3 separate regions of the Homo sapiens genome follow, and regions 1 and 2 are each linked to region 3. The links are contacts of gene promoters, found by promoter capture Hi-C in blood cells and fetal thymus (Javierre and others, 2016). All regions are on one chromosome and are shown on one strand. Each heading gives the region's core, a stretch centred on a gene start or on the middle of the fragment in contact. The rest is flanking DNA. Distances are from core to core; before and after follow the strand shown. Region 1 overlaps CCDC112 (coiled-coil domain containing 112). Region 2 overlaps PGGT1B (protein geranylgeranyltransferase type I subunit beta). Region 3 holds the start of CDO1 (cysteine dioxygenase type 1).

Region 1 (2,700 bases), core at 167-2,666, 540 kb after region 3:
TTAATTTCCACCTGGGAGAAAGAAACACATTAAGAAAATTAATTTTGGCTGGGCATGATGGCTCACGCACTTTGGGAGGCCGAGGTGGGCAGATCACTTGAGCTCAGGAGTTCAAGACCAGCCTGGGCAACATGGCAAAACCCTATATCTATCAAAAAAAAAAATTAGCTGGGCATGGTGGTTGTGTGCCCCTGTAGTCCCAGCTACTCAGGAGACTGAGGTTGGAGGATTGCTTGAGCCAGGGAGGTCAAGGCTGCAGTGAGCTGAGATGGCACCATGGCACTCCAGCCTGGGTGACAGAGCCAGACCCTGTCTCAAAAAAAAAAAGGTAATTTGAGAATTGATTTCTTTGCCCAATCAAAAAAGTTTCTCAGTAGTGTTTTATTTTATTTTTGTTTTCTCTTAGGGTGCAAACTAACAATGAGAACTCCTTACTGTTAGACTAAATTCAAGGGGCAAAGATGTGCTGAAAGAAGCCTGAAGTAAATGTAGACAATAGTCATTAAATACCCGAAATTTCCTGTCTTTGTAGATGGTTAGTCTCTCGAAGTTTTAGTTTTATTAATAATATTAATAACTGGCATTTCCATAGTATACTTGTACTGTACAGAGATCTCCCACATATATTATCTCATTTGATGTGAATAATAGCCCTATTAGATAGTGGAGAGCTGTTATTATTCACATTTTAGTGATGAGGAGGTTCATACCTGGAGAGGTTAACCATCTTGGCTAAGGTTACAAAATTAATAGTATCTACTATTGAAAGCAGTCATCAGCAGTGATGGCCATTTTCAGGCTCCAGTGAGATTGAGTTGGAATCAATAGTCAAAAGCTTATGCATTTTCAAAGCAAATGTATATCCACATTTTCTTAAATTATCATTTTATGATTTACATAGCAGTTCAAATTATAGTTGTGTTTGATTGAAATTAACTCTTCTAGCTATTATTTTGACTAATGTTTTGATTCCTTAGCCTTATTAACCAAAGTAATTATTTTTATTCCATAGATGAATTAATCCAAATATAAAATACGGATTATTGAGTGTCTTCATATTTTAAACTATTAAAAATATATTTAGATCATATTTATACTATTTGTTTCTTTTCCTAAAGAGTAATTAACATGGAAAAAGATAAACACAGTCATTTCTACAACCAAAAAAGTGACTTCAGAATTGAGCATAGTATGCTAGAAGAATTGGAAAATAAATTGATTCACAGCAGGAAAACAGAAAGTAAGTTGAGTTTGTGATGAACTAAAAACTGTTGAGCGATATAAAGTTGTAGTTTTACCCTGTGCTTTGTCTTTGTGCATTGACTGTATTGTGTTCTCTATCAATAGAGTCAGTTCTCTATTGACTGTGTTATATTCTCTGTATTTTAGTTGGTAAAATTTGTCTTTTAGGGACATGTTTATTCTTTCGGGTCACTATTTAGTCATACTAACTGGATTGTTTTCTGTTGTATATTTTTTCCAATATAACAAGAAAGAGAGGATTTGGGGGATTTTTTTGGTTGACACACCACCAAATTCTATTAAAATTTCTTAAAAGCAGAGTGATTTCTGGGCTGTCTGATGTTAGCTCATTACCCTGGCATTGTTGACTGAGCCCTGGACTCAGTAAGCATCAACAGATTCAAAGCTATAATTAGCAGTTGTGTGAAGTGATCAAGTCAGATAATTGCATAAACCTGAGTTTCCTTGTCTACATTCTAAAACTTGTCATTTCTACCTCAGGAGAGCCGTACTATGCATCTGATGAGATAATATATAAAAATGTACCTTATAGATAGATTGTACATGACTATGTTCTTTTGTTTGTTATGAATATTAATCATTGTCAATAGTGTACTGAATGTTACCCTTAAAGAATTTGAGAATATTTGTTTCATTGTAGCGTTAGATTCTGTATGTTGTAAAATCTTTATAATAAAAAAGCTGCTTAGCATTTCTTAAAGGAAAAATAATGGTTATCAAATAACTAAGCTTTATAAAATATTAAGACTTACTATGTAGAGATGAGACTGCTCATGATACTCCCTTGTCATCAATTAAAGTAAATTCTTAGTGATTTTTTTCTTTCAAAATACAAGGTTGCACTATTTTTTAAAAGAAAAGATTACACTACTTTAAAAAGTGATTCTTTGTCAAGCAGTGGCAGGAATCATTTTCCTTCTTTGATACATTGAAAAACCGAGACACCCCTGATTCAATATTTCTTTATTTCCCTCAGTTCTTTTGTAGACAACTGGGAGGCTGATTTTTCTATGTCTCAGTAATGCCAATAAGTAAAATTTTGTGCAAATTTTAGGTCACTTGATTTTCCCTTTATTATGGCAACTTTATTTGTACCAATCTATTTCACTTTGTTCTATAGTTTTGCTTATTTTTTTAAGTTATTTTTATAAGTTTTGCTCTTATAAAGTGTAGTGTTACTACACTTTATGTTTTTCCTGTCTAGGAGAGTAAAGAATGCTTGCCTTAGTGTAGAGAAGTTTTCCCTTCATATATTACAGCTGAGCAGTAGAAATACCTATTCCTTACCTCCAATAGCATACCTCAATTTTAGTCTGCATTTATGTCATATTGTACTTAAATGATTTGTCTATCTATCCAAATGAATAAATAAAATAAAAAGATTATCAGCCTTGTAGTGATATTTTGGTAGCTGATCAAACTAAGGCTAAAATGAAG
Region 2 (2,700 bases), core at 79-2,578, 560 kb after region 3:
ATACAAACAAAGTGGACCTTCTCTCATGAGACATAATTACCACCAAGGGCAGTGATTTTCACACTTTGTTGCTATTATGTAGAGGTTTTTCCCATGTCTAAAGGTTTATTGTGTTTGGAGAAGCACATTCCTCTGGGGAAAATGGTTACAACCAAGAGTCTATAGAAAAGGCCTGTAGTGTTATAGACTGTGATTAGATCCTAAAGTCGTTGTTACTCTTGTCCCTCCAAATCATGGCAAAGACCAAGGATAATGGCTTCCATTTATTGCGTGCTTATTGTGAGTAGGTAAGCACAATTACTGTATAAGGTATAGTAATGATTAAAATAATTATTGGAAGCTGATTAGAAAAGTTTAGGTATCCTGCCCAGAGTCATGTGGTCAGTCTAGTGAAATTGGCCAACTTGAAATTTGACTGCAGAGTCTGAGCTTTGAACTACTGTACAACACTGCTTCCCACATAAAGGAGTTCCACTGCCCTTAATATAATCCTGATCTTACCTAGATAAATTACCTCTCTAATTCAAATAGATCTCAGTGTGTTGTTAGGATTAAATTGAGATAATATATGAGAAATGTCCCAGCTCAGTGTCTAATACATGGTAATAGTCTCTCAATAGGATGTTTCCCAAATATTTATTTCTGAAGTGCACCCAAATCTCTGTAGTTTTAGTTTTTGCCCTTAAGCTTTGGTTGGAATTAAATTACTTTCTGATATCTCCTCCTGTTATCTAATGGATGCTGCTAGTCTTTTTCCACCAGGGATCAGAGCGATAATTTGCCCTTAAAAAAAAAAAAAAGAGAAGAAATCACTATTTTCTCATCTCTCCTAAAGTTGGTACAGATTGAGCATCCCTAATCCAAAAATCTGAGAGACTCCAAAATCAGAAACGGTTTGAGCACTGACATGAAGCCACAAGTGAAAAATTCCACACATAAGTGCTTAACACTAACTTTGTTTCATGCACAAAATTGTTAAACTATTATATAAAATAAGCTTCGTGTGTAAGATGTATATGAAATTTAAATGAATTTCATATTTAGATTTGGGTCCTGTCCCAGTGGGGTATCATCTCATGTATATGCAAATATTCTAAAATCAAAAAAAAATCTGAAATCTGAAACAGTTCTGGTCCCAAGCATTTCAGATAAGGGATACTCAACCTGTAGTACTATTCTAGATAATAGTACTCTAGATGCACAGGAGAGAAGTAAATTTATTACATACAGTGGATACCTCAGGACATTAAGGCTTAACTATTTCTTAGAATCTTCATTGAAAAGATTACAGAATACATCAGGTAGCTCTGCTGTAAAATTTTAGACCAGATAATTTGAAGTGTTAATTTATTACTATTAGTCATATGAATTGTTAGATTATGGAAATGATGTAACAGTACTCAATCAAGCTATACTAGAGACTGCTTCTCAACATGAAAGGAATTATATATAACAAATTCTTTGTGTTCAAAGCCATCGGTAAGATACTGATTTTTATATGAAAGCACAGGTTTAGATTTCTGATTTATAGTGTACAGTTTCAGAGGGGGAAGGTTTTGCTCTATAGTTTTTCATTCTGCCAAAGAATGCTCCTCTCTGGGAAAATAGAGTGTAAGTACATTTGTATTTTTTTAAATGTTTTATATTTCTCAAAGCTTATTATAAATCTTTTCCCAAGGAATCATGTTATTTGTGAACACCTTTGAATTAAGACATTATTCTCATATTCCTCCAGAATTAAATACAAGCTATAATTGATCCTGACAAATTAGTGAAAATTGACATTTTCACATATTTCTAAGTCCTGTACTATTTGTACTGATTAGTTGTAGAGAATCCTTTTTTAAATCTACTTTAGCCTTCAGTTTGGTGATATTCTGGCTTCAGTGGGTCTTGTTTGTGTCAATGGGGTAGGATTGGTTTCTTAACCCCCAAATGTCCCCTTTTGAAAAATTGAAACAAAAGGCTTGACTGATAGTATTAAGTTACAAGAATATGTATATATATATTTTTTGCTTTTGCAAGGTGGAAGTATTGTTTAAATTATTGGAAAATTAGAATGATTTTATTATTTTTCTAGACCAGGAAGACTTCAGACTTAAGTGGTATGATAGTTAAGATGGAATTTTACATTTTTTTCTTTTAGGTTGACAATTGCATTTTTTGCACTCTCCGGGCTGGATATGTTGGATTCCTTAGATGTGGTGAACAAAGATGATATAATAGAGTGGATTTATTCCCTGCAGGTCCTTCCCACAGAAGACAGTGAGTGAGTTTTTAGCATTTTATTTTTAGTGTGACTGGTTGTACCTGACATAACATGTGTTGGACTAGAAAATCTTAGTACTTGTATACTGTTAACATATTTTATTTATCTGTGATTTTGTTGTAATGCAGCATTGCCATTCTGTTGAAATACAGTACTTAACAAATCTGATCATAATCTCAAGAAAACAATTTAGAGTTATCTGGAATTTAATAGAGATTCACAGTTGTGGCACCATACTATGTTGTATACTTCCACTTTGATGACTACTTGTTGATTATTTATAGTCAGTATTTATGTTTGATTAGTTCTGTAGCATTAACTCTGTTTTTCATTCCCAACAATTCTTGTCTTTTCAGTGAAAAACTCTTTGCCATCGAAAAGTTTTCTTTCAGTTTCCTGATTATTTTCCCTCCAGTGTTTCATTAGCATTT
Region 3 (2,700 bases), core at 2-2,501:
CACATCACCAAGGCTGGCTTCTGGAATGCTTTCTACTTGTAGCCATTTTTGAACAATAGGTGATTCCGCTTTTAACAACACTGTTAGAATATAATGTAGCGAGTTTTACCAGAGATGTTTAAGACTACCTGGCACAAGTAAATTTCATTGTATACATGTATATACACGAGGGAGGGTGATCATAGTCTAGAAAAAAACAGGTCTTCAGAAGTCTAGAACTTTAATAACCTTAAATCCAAATTATTCCCTGCGTCCATCCATAATGAGAAGGAAGAAATCTACACTTGCATTTCTTCCACCTTTCACATCTTTCTCATTTAAATCCTACTGTACTTGATTTGTGTTGTTCCCAACGTACTAGGTGCTATGCATGACGTAGAAACGTGTTTCCTTATATGTATGTACTAGCAGGCTCCTTCAAGCACATGCCTAAGGTTGAAAGATTCAAATATAATTATAGCCTCTTAAATTATTGCGTCAGAGCCCGCCCTATCCCCTCAGAAAAAGCCCCCTTTTACACCATCAAATGAAATATCAGGTTATTTGCACTGGATATTTTTTAAAAGAAAATATTTGATTTTAAAATCAAAGAGTTCTTGGTTTTCCATCATTTCACTAATTGTCTTACTAGAGACCCGAGTCTCCTTTGTCAAAATATATTTCAGTACGCATTTTAAAAAATATGTGTGTGTGTATACTTAAATATATATATATATAAAGTCTTGGACTTATTTTCACCTAGCCTGGGGCATATCGTGGATAGTTTCAATCGACAAAACAGGCACTCTCTGGCCTAGGAGTGGAATCCATCCTCAATTTTCGCAGGCTCCTCACAATTCTCTATTTGGAAGAAGTGTCCCTCTCCTTCCCTTTTCTTTTCCTCCTTTACTCAGCGTCAGTCCCCGCAGCCATCTCCTCCGACCCTTTTTGTCTACGTCCCAGCGTCGCGAACCACAGCGGCGGAGGTGGAGCGGGGAGAGGCGTTAGGCCGGGCGGCTAAAACGCGCCGTTAAAGTGGGGGAGAGATTGCGCGGAGCCCACGCGATCCCTGGGACGCCGGAGACAACGGGGCTCTTGGGAAGGCGCGGAGCCCGGGGAAGCCGGGGATGTGCGCGTGAGCCGTGCCCGCAGGGTCTCCCCGCCTCCGCCACCTTTCTTGGGTGGCTCTCCGCCTCGTCCTCCCTCCGAGGGCCGTTGGTACATTCCTAGTGACTCCAAGCGCTTAAAAGGGGCCCGGGAGGATGAACCCCACAGATCTGAACCTGATTTGTGTGTGCACCGCGTCTCCAGCGATCCCGGATCCACTGCGCTGCCAGGGGCCTGGGGGTGGGTCTCTTGCTGTCTCTGCGACGACATCCTTACGTTTCGGCACTCTAATGCTGGGTTTGTGCGTGTGTGTCTGCTTAGCGGTCTAGCGGGCTGTTAGGCTCCCTCGCCCCCAGCTCCTTGGCTCGCTCAGCTCCTCCACCGCAGCCCAGCAGTGAGACGCGCGCGCAGCCAGCTCCCCACGAGATGGAACAGACCGAAGTGCTGAAGCCACGGACCCTGGCTGATCTGATCCGCATCCTGCACCAGCTCTTTGCCGGCGATGAGGTCAATGTAGAGGAGGTGCAGGCCATCATGGAAGCCTACGAGAGCGACCCCACCGAGTGGGCAATGTACGCCAAGTTCGACCAGTACAGGTGAGCGCGCTGCAGCTTCAATGCCAGGCGGCGCCCACTCGCCCCGTCTGAGGAGGAATGGACGTGGGGGACGCAGCCCAAAGTGACTGGCTCGGGAAGCTCGGGCCGCGCTGCGTCCGCCGCTCGCCCCCTCGCTGGCCAGCCGCGGGGCTGGCACGACTCGCTTGGGGCTCCGCGGCCACAGCGCAGGCGGAAGGTGGATCCTACTGGCCTTGCTGACCTCCGGCCGGGAACGGCGGACAGGCGCCGGGAAGGGAGGCCACCGCGCGTCTGCGAGATTTTCTGTTCTCTTCTCTCCCGCAAACCCCTCTGCTTCTAAACCACCAGTCCTCCTGCCCCTGGCCTCGGGAGCAATGCCCACACTCCCAAGCCATCGTTAACCCCGGGCGCGGAGATGCGGAGAGACCGCACTCAGGTTCGGGCCCTCCTGACACCTTAAGGAACCGTCTGGCCGGACTAGCAGAGGGTGCTCCCAGGGGAGCACTACATCAGCCATCGGGAGAAGTGTGTGATGTTGAAGAAGACAAGTCACCCGCGTCAGTTCTCCATCACTGCGCCTTCGGTCGCCTGCAACCGGGCACCTTATAGCAAGCATTTTTACTCATGTAAAATAGCGTCTTGTGGCCGTCAGCTGCCACTACGGAATTTCTGCTGTTCCCTTTCCCAAACCAATTTAACTAACTTCCCCGACTGTGGGTTTATTCAAATCCACTGCCAAGTTTCGCAGATTAAATATTCGACCGTCGTTTTTTTCAGCCCCCAAATGATCTGATTTATCTTATCCTTGCTTCTGACGATCTGTAATGTAAATTAAAGACCCCTACTTCCCAGATGTACTTGAGTGAGGTGCCCTGGTAAGCTGGCTTTTTTGCAGCCCCGGCTTGGTGATTAAGTCGAATCTCTCTACCAATCCTCCGGGGCCAGAGGTAAAATTTAATCACCCCGAAGTGTGAGAGGTTCTACTTTTTCTGAGCAGTTAGTGCGTCAGTCTTTGTGGTTTTTTGGGTTTAGGGTTAGG

What was found. Contacts are between HindIII fragments. The CHiCAGO score rates a contact against its expected background, and 5 or more counts as called.
Region 1: a fragment that was not itself captured here is called in contact with the fragment with the promoter of CDO1 in region 3 in 2 of 17 cell types (non-activated CD4 T cells and total CD8 T cells); the score reaches 6.2 in non-activated CD4 T cells.
Region 2: a fragment that was not itself captured here is called in contact with the fragment with the promoter of CDO1 in region 3 in 1 of 17 cell types (total CD8 T cells); the score reaches 5.4 in total CD8 T cells.

What each region holds. Positions count from the first base shown.
Region 1 is chr5:115,278,187-115,280,886 of GRCh38, reverse strand. CCDC112 (coiled-coil domain containing 112) reads left to right here. Exons shown (of 10, transcript NM_001040440.3): 3 at 1,119-1,240. Among named protein-coding and RNA genes, the nearest start is that of PGGT1B, 17 kb to the right of the region's middle. The HindIII fragment of the contact is 1,157 bases long and covers 838-1,994 here.
Region 2 is chr5:115,252,702-115,255,401 of GRCh38, reverse strand. PGGT1B (protein geranylgeranyltransferase type I subunit beta) reads left to right here. Exons shown (of 9, transcript NM_005023.4): 2 at 2,147-2,265. Among named protein-coding and RNA genes, the nearest start is that of PGGT1B, 8.8 kb to the left of the region's middle. The HindIII fragment of the contact is 658 bases long and covers 1,000-1,657 here.
Region 3 is chr5:115,815,210-115,817,909 of GRCh38, reverse strand. CDO1 (cysteine dioxygenase type 1) reads left to right here and starts at 1,251. Exons shown (of 5, transcript NM_001801.3): 1 at 1,251-1,682. The coding sequence starts at 1,513. It overlaps LOC124901049 (a long non-coding RNA gene), which reads right to left and starts at 822. Exons shown (of 2, transcript XR_007058908.1): 1 at 739-822. The HindIII fragment of the contact is 6,274 bases long and covers 1-2,700 here.